Regions from separate parts of the Homo sapiens genome. Here all the other regions are linked to region 2. The links are contacts of gene promoters, found by promoter capture Hi-C in blood cells and fetal thymus (Javierre and others, 2016). All regions are on one chromosome and are shown on one strand. The core of a region is centred on a gene start or on the middle of the fragment in contact, and the rest is flanking DNA. Distances in the headings are between cores, read along the strand shown.

Region 1 (2,812 bases), core at 13-2,512, 160 kb after region 2:
TCATACAATATATGGTTGTTTGTGTCTGTTTCTTTCCCTTAGCATAACACTTTCAAGGTTTATTTATATTGCAGTGTGTATGATTATTTTACTGTTGTTGAATGGAATTCTTTTGTATAGATAATACCATATTTTGTTTATTCATTTTCCAGTTGATAATATCATTACAATGCCTTTTTGATACAATGTTAAACTACATGAAGTGTTGACCAAGTATATGTTATAGATGGCTTTTGAATTTATTTTAGGGTGAATGAAAACTTTCTCAACACATAACACTATGACTTTTCTTCTGTTTTGCTGATAGGGCATGATTAATCTGTATGGAGCTCATACATTCTTCTTGTGCCTTGAAGATGCCAGGGGCTCCTCTTTTGGAGTATTTCTGATGAACAGTAATGCCATGGGTAGGAAGCATCTTTTTATCTTCTGTAGGTAGGAATACGTTTTAGGATTCTGCTTTTATAAAAAATTACTTTTATGGTGAGATCAACTGTTGAACAGAAGGCATTTTGAACCTACAATACTTTTATTGAAACTGGAACCTGAAAGTAGGTTAATCTGTCTACAAATCCAGGTGATACTTGACATTGTTTTCATTGAAAACCACTTCAGGGGTCTTCTTTGGTATAATGTTTCCCCTCATAGTCTGTAGAAAATAGGATCCACTGATAGACGCATTCCAAAAATATCTGTAGATTTCAACGTGTAAATTGTGCTTTCTGTCTGTAGGCAACAAGGCTGTGTTTTGTAGGCTGTTTCTCACAGCCCACCCACACTTTCCCCACTCCAAATCTTCCTTCTCCAGCTTCTGGATTAATGGTACTCTCATAAGCATTTTTATTTATTTTTAAATATTTAATTGTAGTCAAACTCATCTAATAAAATTTTTATAACGTTTTTTGAGTGAAGCTACTCGCAAAACCCAGAAGCTTGTATTTTTATGTGGCCAGGTTAAAATACAATTTGTTCTTCTTTATCTTAAAAAAAAAAAAACAAAACTCAATTCTTCATTGGTGTCTTACACATTCAATACTTTGATAAACTCCAACAACGATCCTCTGATAAAAAGACAGTGTGATTTTCATCCCTTTCAAAATGAGACTGAGACTCTTTTAGGTGGCTCAACTATTTCTACTGCAGAGAAGAGTTTACTTCCAACCATAAGATTCTAATTAATCTCATTATAATTTTTTCAGAGGTTACCCTTCAGCCAGCTCCTGCGATCACTTATCGCACGATTGGAGGCATTCTTGACTTTTACGTATTCCTAGGAAACACTCCAGAACAAGTGGTTCAGGAATACTTGGAGGTATGTCTTTGCATTTAGATAGTCATTATTTACTGCTGTTATCTCATATACTCATTATAAATTAATAAAAGAAAAATAAAAGGTATTAGTAAACTGTATGGATTATAAATGCTGGGATAGTGAGTCTTTCATCTATTGTTTATTTATTTTGATGACCTTTATTGGGTGCTTTCTGCATTCCAAAGAGACACTGTGCAAGGCTTGAGAAATGCAAAAAGAAGTCAGACACCATCCTGCTTTCAAGTAACTCATAGTCCATTCATGTATCCCACAAATCAGCAAAGCTTATTCATTCAATAAGTTAAAATTCAGTGAAAAGGAACTACCTGAATAAACTTTGCTAGCTATTCACATTTGACTCAAATTATAGAAAAGGAAGACGCTTGAGGTTGGCTGCAGTGGCTCATGCTTGTAATTCCACCACTTTGGGAGGCCAAGGTGGGCGAATCACTTGAGGTCAGGAGGTTGAGACCAGCCTGGCCAACATGGCAGAGCCCTGTCTCTACTAAAAATACAAAAATTAGCTGGGCATGGTGGCGTGTGCCTGTAATCTCACTCCTAATCCCATCCATTCTTATTCCTTTACCCTTTGCACACACCACTATCTGAAATTATATTAGGCATTTATTTATTTCCTCTAAGCTCTCTGAGGGCAGGAGCTATGTTTGCTCTGTGCCACTATATTCCAAGTGCCCATATTAGCCCTTGCCACACTGTGAACAAATATTCAGAAAAACACTTATAGAATAATGAATGTCACCAGTTTCCCCTAAGATGACACCATTACTGAAACATTTTCTGCAAATTTTATTAGTGTCTGATCTGATGTTGGGAATACATTTATGTACTTAGTAAAGAAGGATGTGATTGTGGAATTTCACAAATTATTCTAGCAGATTACTCTTAGCTCTGACGTTTTCAGCTCTGGGAACTTCACAGAAAATGAAATGGGGCTAATGTTATTCTCAAAGCCTACACACTTACTTATCTTTTCAGCTTGTTGGACGGCCATTCTTCCCTCCCTATTGGAGTCTTGGGTTCCAGCTTAGTCGCAGGGACTATGGTGGCATCAATAAATTGAAAGAAGTTGTAAGCCGAAATCGTTTAGCTGAGATACCATATGTAAGTCGAAACTTCTTTTACCATGCAGTTGACACCAATTCCCATTTTTATTTTTTGCATTAAATTCAATGTATTAGGAAAAATGTAGATAAATCATTAGATTGATAGACAGGCACACTTGCTGGCAGAAATTTGCATGTTAAGTTATGTATCTGAGCATGAAAAGTATACTGTTAATGAAGCCTGATAGAGGTGGCTTTGAATTTTAGCTTTACCTCTTCATAGCTCTGTGCAATGTTGCGCCAGTTAATTAACATCTCTGAGCCTTAGTTTCCACCTTTATAGAATGAGGATGTAAGACTTACTTTGGTGGGCTGGTAGTAAGGAATGCCTTATACTGTGCATGTTGAAGCATCTAGCACTGATGGTGAACATCAT
Region 2 (2,729 bases), core at 39-2,538:
TTGCCTAGGCCATGTATAGTGCTTAATTATTTTATTCATCTATAAGTGAGTTCATTGATACAAAGTGGAGAGACTTTCAATTGTGTTTTATAGAAGAAATTGGAAGGCTTTGTGAGGAATCAGAGTTGTATTCCTGAAGAATCAGAGGCATATTTATGAAGACTCACAGGCGTATTAATGAAGAGCTCATTTCATGTCCATTCTCAGCACAGTGTCCGGGAATCTGCCTTGTGGTCGGCTCTTACCTTCAGGCTGCTCTGAGCCCAGAGCAGAATGGTCATCACAGCTCTCCTCAACTTGGCATTGCCTGAGATCAGGATGGCTGCATGCCCAGAGGGACAAGCTGCCATTATCCCAACACAAACCATCACCCCTATTTTGTCGCGCCACAGAATCAGTAGGGGCACAGAGATGAAGGCAGCACAGGATGATATCACAAAGAAGCAGAAAAAGGAGACAAGAGACTTGAGGGCTTTAATGTGGGCCTCCAGGCTGGGGTCACGAGAGTTTCTGGTATAGACCTTCATTGTCCTCATGTGCCTTCCCAGGGAGACAGTCAGCATCCCAGAAGAAACCAGAAACAATAGGAAAGGAGGCACAGACCACAGATAGCAGAAGAGAAAGGAATAAAATAAATTGAGATCTTTAATCTGCCAGTTGAGCCTTGTATTGTTATTCATGAATAGCACAGTTGTGACTGTGAAGTGAGGTCTGCTAAAAAAGCACCAAACACAGAGGACAGTGCAGATGCAGGAGCAAAGAATAATACCCAGGAGCATCTGGGAGATCTTCCTGGAGACCCAGCTTGCCAAGCAGATCAGGAAGGTGTGAGAGAAACGGATGAGCTTGGAGCAGTAAAGCAGGCTGAGGCAGGCAGCAAGCCAGAGGTTGGCTTGGTTTGCAATCATCCATAGCATGATGATGGCTTGGTAGCTGTGGTTCAGTGGTTCACTCAACTTCTGGAAGTGGGTAAGCTGGATAGCACTCAGGAACAGCAGTCCATGCAGGAAAAGCCGGCTGATGCTGAGACACAGCAGCACACAATCACTGTTGCTCAGTGCCTGCCTCTTCACTACATCCCAAAAATTCACCAAGAAAACGAAGGCATTGGTCAGAAACCCCACTGCAAACTCCAGGACTGAAATGAACAGAAATGTACTCCTGACTTCATAGGACACAGTGCGGATGCGAGTTAGAGTCAACATGATGTCACTTCTCTAATTGGCTATTCTACTTCTCTTCTCTAGTTGGCTAATCTAAAGACCTGGTTGCCACCCAGTGCAGAAAGGTAAATGTACGTTCCAAGCCAGGACCTTTCCTTCACAAAGCATCCAGCTCTTTGCCTAGATCTATCCCAAAGCGAGCGCATAAAAAGTTCTGGCAGGAAACTTAGAGGGATGTTGTTTCTCTAGAACATCTCTTGGATACACGTAAGAGCTTATCATAGGGTGGAAGACTGATGGTTCTACCTCTTGGGTGATGCAAGATTAATAAATCCAGGTGTTCCTGTACAACCGCCTTCCCAGAAGGCCATAGCACAGCATCACGGATGCAAACAAAACAGGGCCTCAATTTCCCCAATCCAGTTTTGCATGCCCATCTGGACCTGTGGGGGTGGCGAAGAGAACAGGATTTGCTTATGGGTTTTGAGGCACCCTGCAGCAGGCAAAGCAGATATTCTTGGTGATCTAAGGTTTGAAATAGAGTCTCTTTTCATTTGCATTCCTTCTCTCATCTGTGAAGTAATGACTCTTATCACAGACTGTGTTTTTAATATAGATAAATGCATGGTTCCTTTCCATGTGTCAGTGTATGATTGCAGTTTTATTTGCTGTTGCCAAAGGTTTCATGCAATCATCATTATTATGCCAGGCACTGTGCCTGGCAAGGAGAATATTAACATGAACAAGACTAGCACGCTGTCATGAAGGGAGAGGAAAGGGGGCATAGCTGGTTTGGATTATTATTATGTTTATTTTTTAATTAGTATAAGTTCTGGGGTACATGTGCAGAACATGCAGGCTTGTTACATAGGCATACACCTGCCATGGTGGTTCGCTGCACCCATCAACCCGTTATCTATATTAGGTATTTCTCCTAATGGTCTCCTTCCCCTTGCCCCCTACCCCCTGACAGGCCCTGGTGTTTGATGTTCCCCTCCCTGTGTCCATGTGTTCTCATTGTTCAACTGCCACTTATGAGTGAATTTCCCCCGATAAATCCTTTAAGAGTTATTGGTGCTGCCCCATTGGTGTTTTTCGATACTTTCTCTTTGTATTTTTTATGTTTTCTTTTGACTAAAGCTCCTTTTTTATTATTAGTAGTGACATAAGTCAGTGATTACTAAAGATGTTCACTTTTGTTTTATTCTGAACTGTTCATACGCAGATATTTATGTAGTCCTTATTTGTGCATCATGATGTAGCAGTTGTATTTAATTAATTGTGTTTGTGACCACTTCATTTGGGTCATTCATGCTTACAGAGTGTCAAACACAGAATTCTGCACTTTCAACTTAAGCTAATTTTCTCCTTGTCTTCACCACACCAGGTGGCGGTGTTGCACTAAAGGTGTTTAGAAAAGATGTTTGCCTCCCTAAAAAGTCTAGGTAGAAACTTGCTCTACTGCACAAGCAGAGATATATAACTATACAGTTAGAACCATTTATATCAAGATTATAATCTTTTATTAAAAAATAAAGTTCTTTATGTTATTTCTTGGAACACCAG
Region 3 (2,748 bases), core at 71-2,570, 180 kb before region 2:
TCACATTTTTAAAAATTACTGCAGATAATCAAGTTTTCTTTGCCAATATGCTATGTTTTTGATAAAAGGAAGTAGAAAATAGCTATAGTTTGAAAATAATATATTTTAAAAAGAGGTGAGCCTGTATATTTTTTAGGCAAGCACTTTTCTTAGGGGAATTAGCTAAATTATTATCTCAATTTTCTATGTAGTTTAGCCTCTCAACACCGGTAGTAAAGTAGTCAAAAACCTACCTTTATATTTCTGGATACTTTGGTTTTTTTGATGCCAGACTAGCTTTCTGGAAACGTGTCAGTTGGCTACCAGGATCGGTGGCAAATTCCACTGCCAGGCTAGATTGGGGCAGGTGGGGAGAGAGAGGCACTATGTCTCTATCAGAAAGTCACTGAAGAAACACTGTTTTTGGACGAGTTCAAGCCTCATCTAGATTTTTAGTCCAGTAGAAGATCGCGACCACCTCTGCCCCTCCATAGCCTACAGCCAGAGTTTTAGAGTACCAGGCCTTGCAGCTTGGTGGAGATGATGTACAATGGATGCTACCTGGAGGCAGGGACTGTGTATTATAATGGCGCCGTCCCCTGTGCCTAGTACACCGTAGTTTGACACAAAATAAGCACTTTGTAAATTTAGTCCGAAGGAATGGAAATCTCATCCTACAATCCATTCAGTTATTAATAGAGCAACTGAGGCCCAGAGACGGGCAGTGGCCTGCCTGCCTACAGCTTCGTAGAGAGTTCTCAGCATGCTTACTTTTTTTTTTTGAGATGGAGTCTTGCTCTGTCGCCCAGGCTGGAGTGCAGTGGCGCGATCTTGGCCCACTGCAGCTTCCATCTCCTGGGTTCAAGTGGTTCTCCTGCCTCAGCCTCCCGAGTAGCTGGGACTACAGGCAGCCACCACCACGCCCAGATAATTTTTGTATTTTTAGTAGAGATGGGGCTTCACCATGTTGGCCAGGGTGGTCTCGAACTCCTGGCTTCAGGTGATCCACCCGCCTTGGCCTCTCAAAGTGTTGGGATTACAGGTGTGAGCCACCATGCCTGGCCCAGTGTTCTTTTCATGAAAATAAAATTTCTTTTTTTATATAGCATATGAGCTCATAACTGGCACTGTATAGCACCTGAGCATGTTTTGATTTGGTCTTTCTTGTTGAGGGGCCTTGTTACGTTATACCCTGGTGTCTAGACTTTGGCCCAAAACCTTTGAGATGGAGAGCCGGTGTCTGTGGTACTGTTTGCAATCTCTGGTTCTACACTCAGGGTTCATTCATGTAGATGCAAATACAGATGGTATCATAACTTCCAACCTCTCTGTTCCTCATCACAGCTGTTCAGTCTCGCTTGAAGACAGATTACGGAAGGACGAGGCCAAATCCAGATTTTGTGGTGTGAAAATTTACCCTGGTGTGTTATCACTACCAGGGGATCTGACCTCAGCCAGGAGCAGTGAGAGCCTCCTCTCCCCAGCCATGCTGAGCGCTGGCCTAGGACTGCTGATGCTGGTGGCAGTGGTTGAATTTCTCATCGGTTTAATTGGAAATGGAAGCCTGGTGGTCTGGAGTTTTAGAGAATGGATCAGAAAATTCAACTGGTCCTCATATAACCTCATTATCCTGGGCCTGGCTGGCTGCCGATTTCTCCTGCAGTGGCTGATCATTTTGGACTTAAGCTTGTTTCCACTTTTCCAGAGCAGCCGTTGGCTTCGCTATCTTAGTATCTTCTGGGTCCTGGTAAGCCAGGCCAGCTTATGGTTTGCCACCTTCCTCAGTGTCTTCTATTGCAAGAAGATCACGACCTTCGATCGCCCGGCCTACTTGTGGCTGAAGCAGAGGGCCTATAACCTGAGTCTCTGGTGCCTTCTGGGCTACTTTATAATCAATTTGTTACTTACAGTCCAAATTGGCTTAACATTCTATCATCCTCCCCAAGGAAACAGCAGCATTCGGTATCCCTTTGAAAGCTGGCAGTACCTGTATGCATTTCAGCTCAATTCAGGAAGTTATTTGCCTTTAGTGGTGTTTCTTGTTTCCTCTGGGATGCTGATTGTCTCTTTGTATACACACCACAAGAAGATGAAGGTCCATTCAGCTGGTAGGAGGGATGTCCGGGCCAAGGCTCACATCACTGCGCTGAAGTCCTTGGGCTGCTTCCTCTTACTTCACCTGGTTTATATCATGGCCAGCCCCTTCTCCATCACCTCCAAGACTTATCCTCCTGATCTCACCAGTGTCTTCATCTGGGAGACACTCATGGCAGCCTATCCTTCTCTTCATTCTCTCATATTGATCATGGGGATTCCTAGGGTGAAGCAGACTTGTCAGAAGATCCTGTGGAAGACAGTGTGTGCTCGGAGATGCTGGGGCCCATGATCTGGGAAGAAAAGTGTGGTCAGGACACTCTTGGGACGCTCTTTTGATAGCTCTCTATAAGGGAGCTGCTTTCCATGTCTTTTAAGATTTTCCTTCTTTTACACCAATGTAATGAATGAGCAACAGAAAATACGGATCAAAACCCAATACTATGTCTCTTTTGGCAATGCAAAGTATATTTTTTTAATGTACCACAGAAATCAAGGCTAGGGCTTCATGTTTGGTAAAAGAGGTATTATATTCTCTCTACATATAGCAAATAATTCATATATAAATCGTGTTTTTCCTATTATAAAAAGCAGAGATTAGGAACAATTCTGTCTACATATAGCAAAAATTCATATATAAATTGTGTTTTTCCTAGTATAGAAAACAGAGATTAG

What was found. Contacts are between HindIII fragments. The CHiCAGO score rates a contact against its expected background, and 5 or more counts as called.
Region 1: a fragment that was not itself captured here is called in contact with the fragment with the promoter of TAS2R38 in region 2 in 1 of 17 cell types (megakaryocytes); the score reaches 5.6 in megakaryocytes.
Region 3: the fragment with the promoter of TAS2R5 here is called in contact with the fragment with the promoter of TAS2R38 in region 2 in 4 of 17 cell types (monocytes, M0 macrophages, M1 macrophages and 1 more); the score reaches 6.3 in monocytes.

Annotation. Positions count from the first base shown.
Region 1 is chr7:142,136,234-142,139,045 of GRCh38, forward strand. MGAM2 (maltase-glucoamylase 2 (putative)) reads left to right here. Exons shown (of 48, transcript NM_001293626.2): 8 at 308-407; 9 at 1,200-1,312; 10 at 2,309-2,434. Among named protein-coding and RNA genes, the nearest start is that of MGAM2, 26 kb to the left of the region's middle. The HindIII fragment of the contact is 664 bases long and covers 931-1,594 here.
Region 2 is chr7:141,972,485-141,975,213 of GRCh38, forward strand. It overlaps TAS2R38 (taste 2 receptor member 38), which reads right to left and starts at 1,289. Exons shown (of 1, transcript NM_176817.5): 1 at 147-1,289. The coding sequence starts at 1,205. The coding sequence ends at 204. The HindIII fragment of the contact is 7,298 bases long and covers 1-2,729 here.
Region 3 is chr7:141,788,897-141,791,644 of GRCh38, forward strand. It overlaps TAS2R5 (taste 2 receptor member 5), which reads left to right and starts at 1,321. Exons shown (of 1, transcript NM_018980.3): 1 at 1,321-2,471. The coding sequence starts at 1,466. The coding sequence ends at 2,365. The HindIII fragment of the contact is 7,447 bases long and covers 1-1,663 here.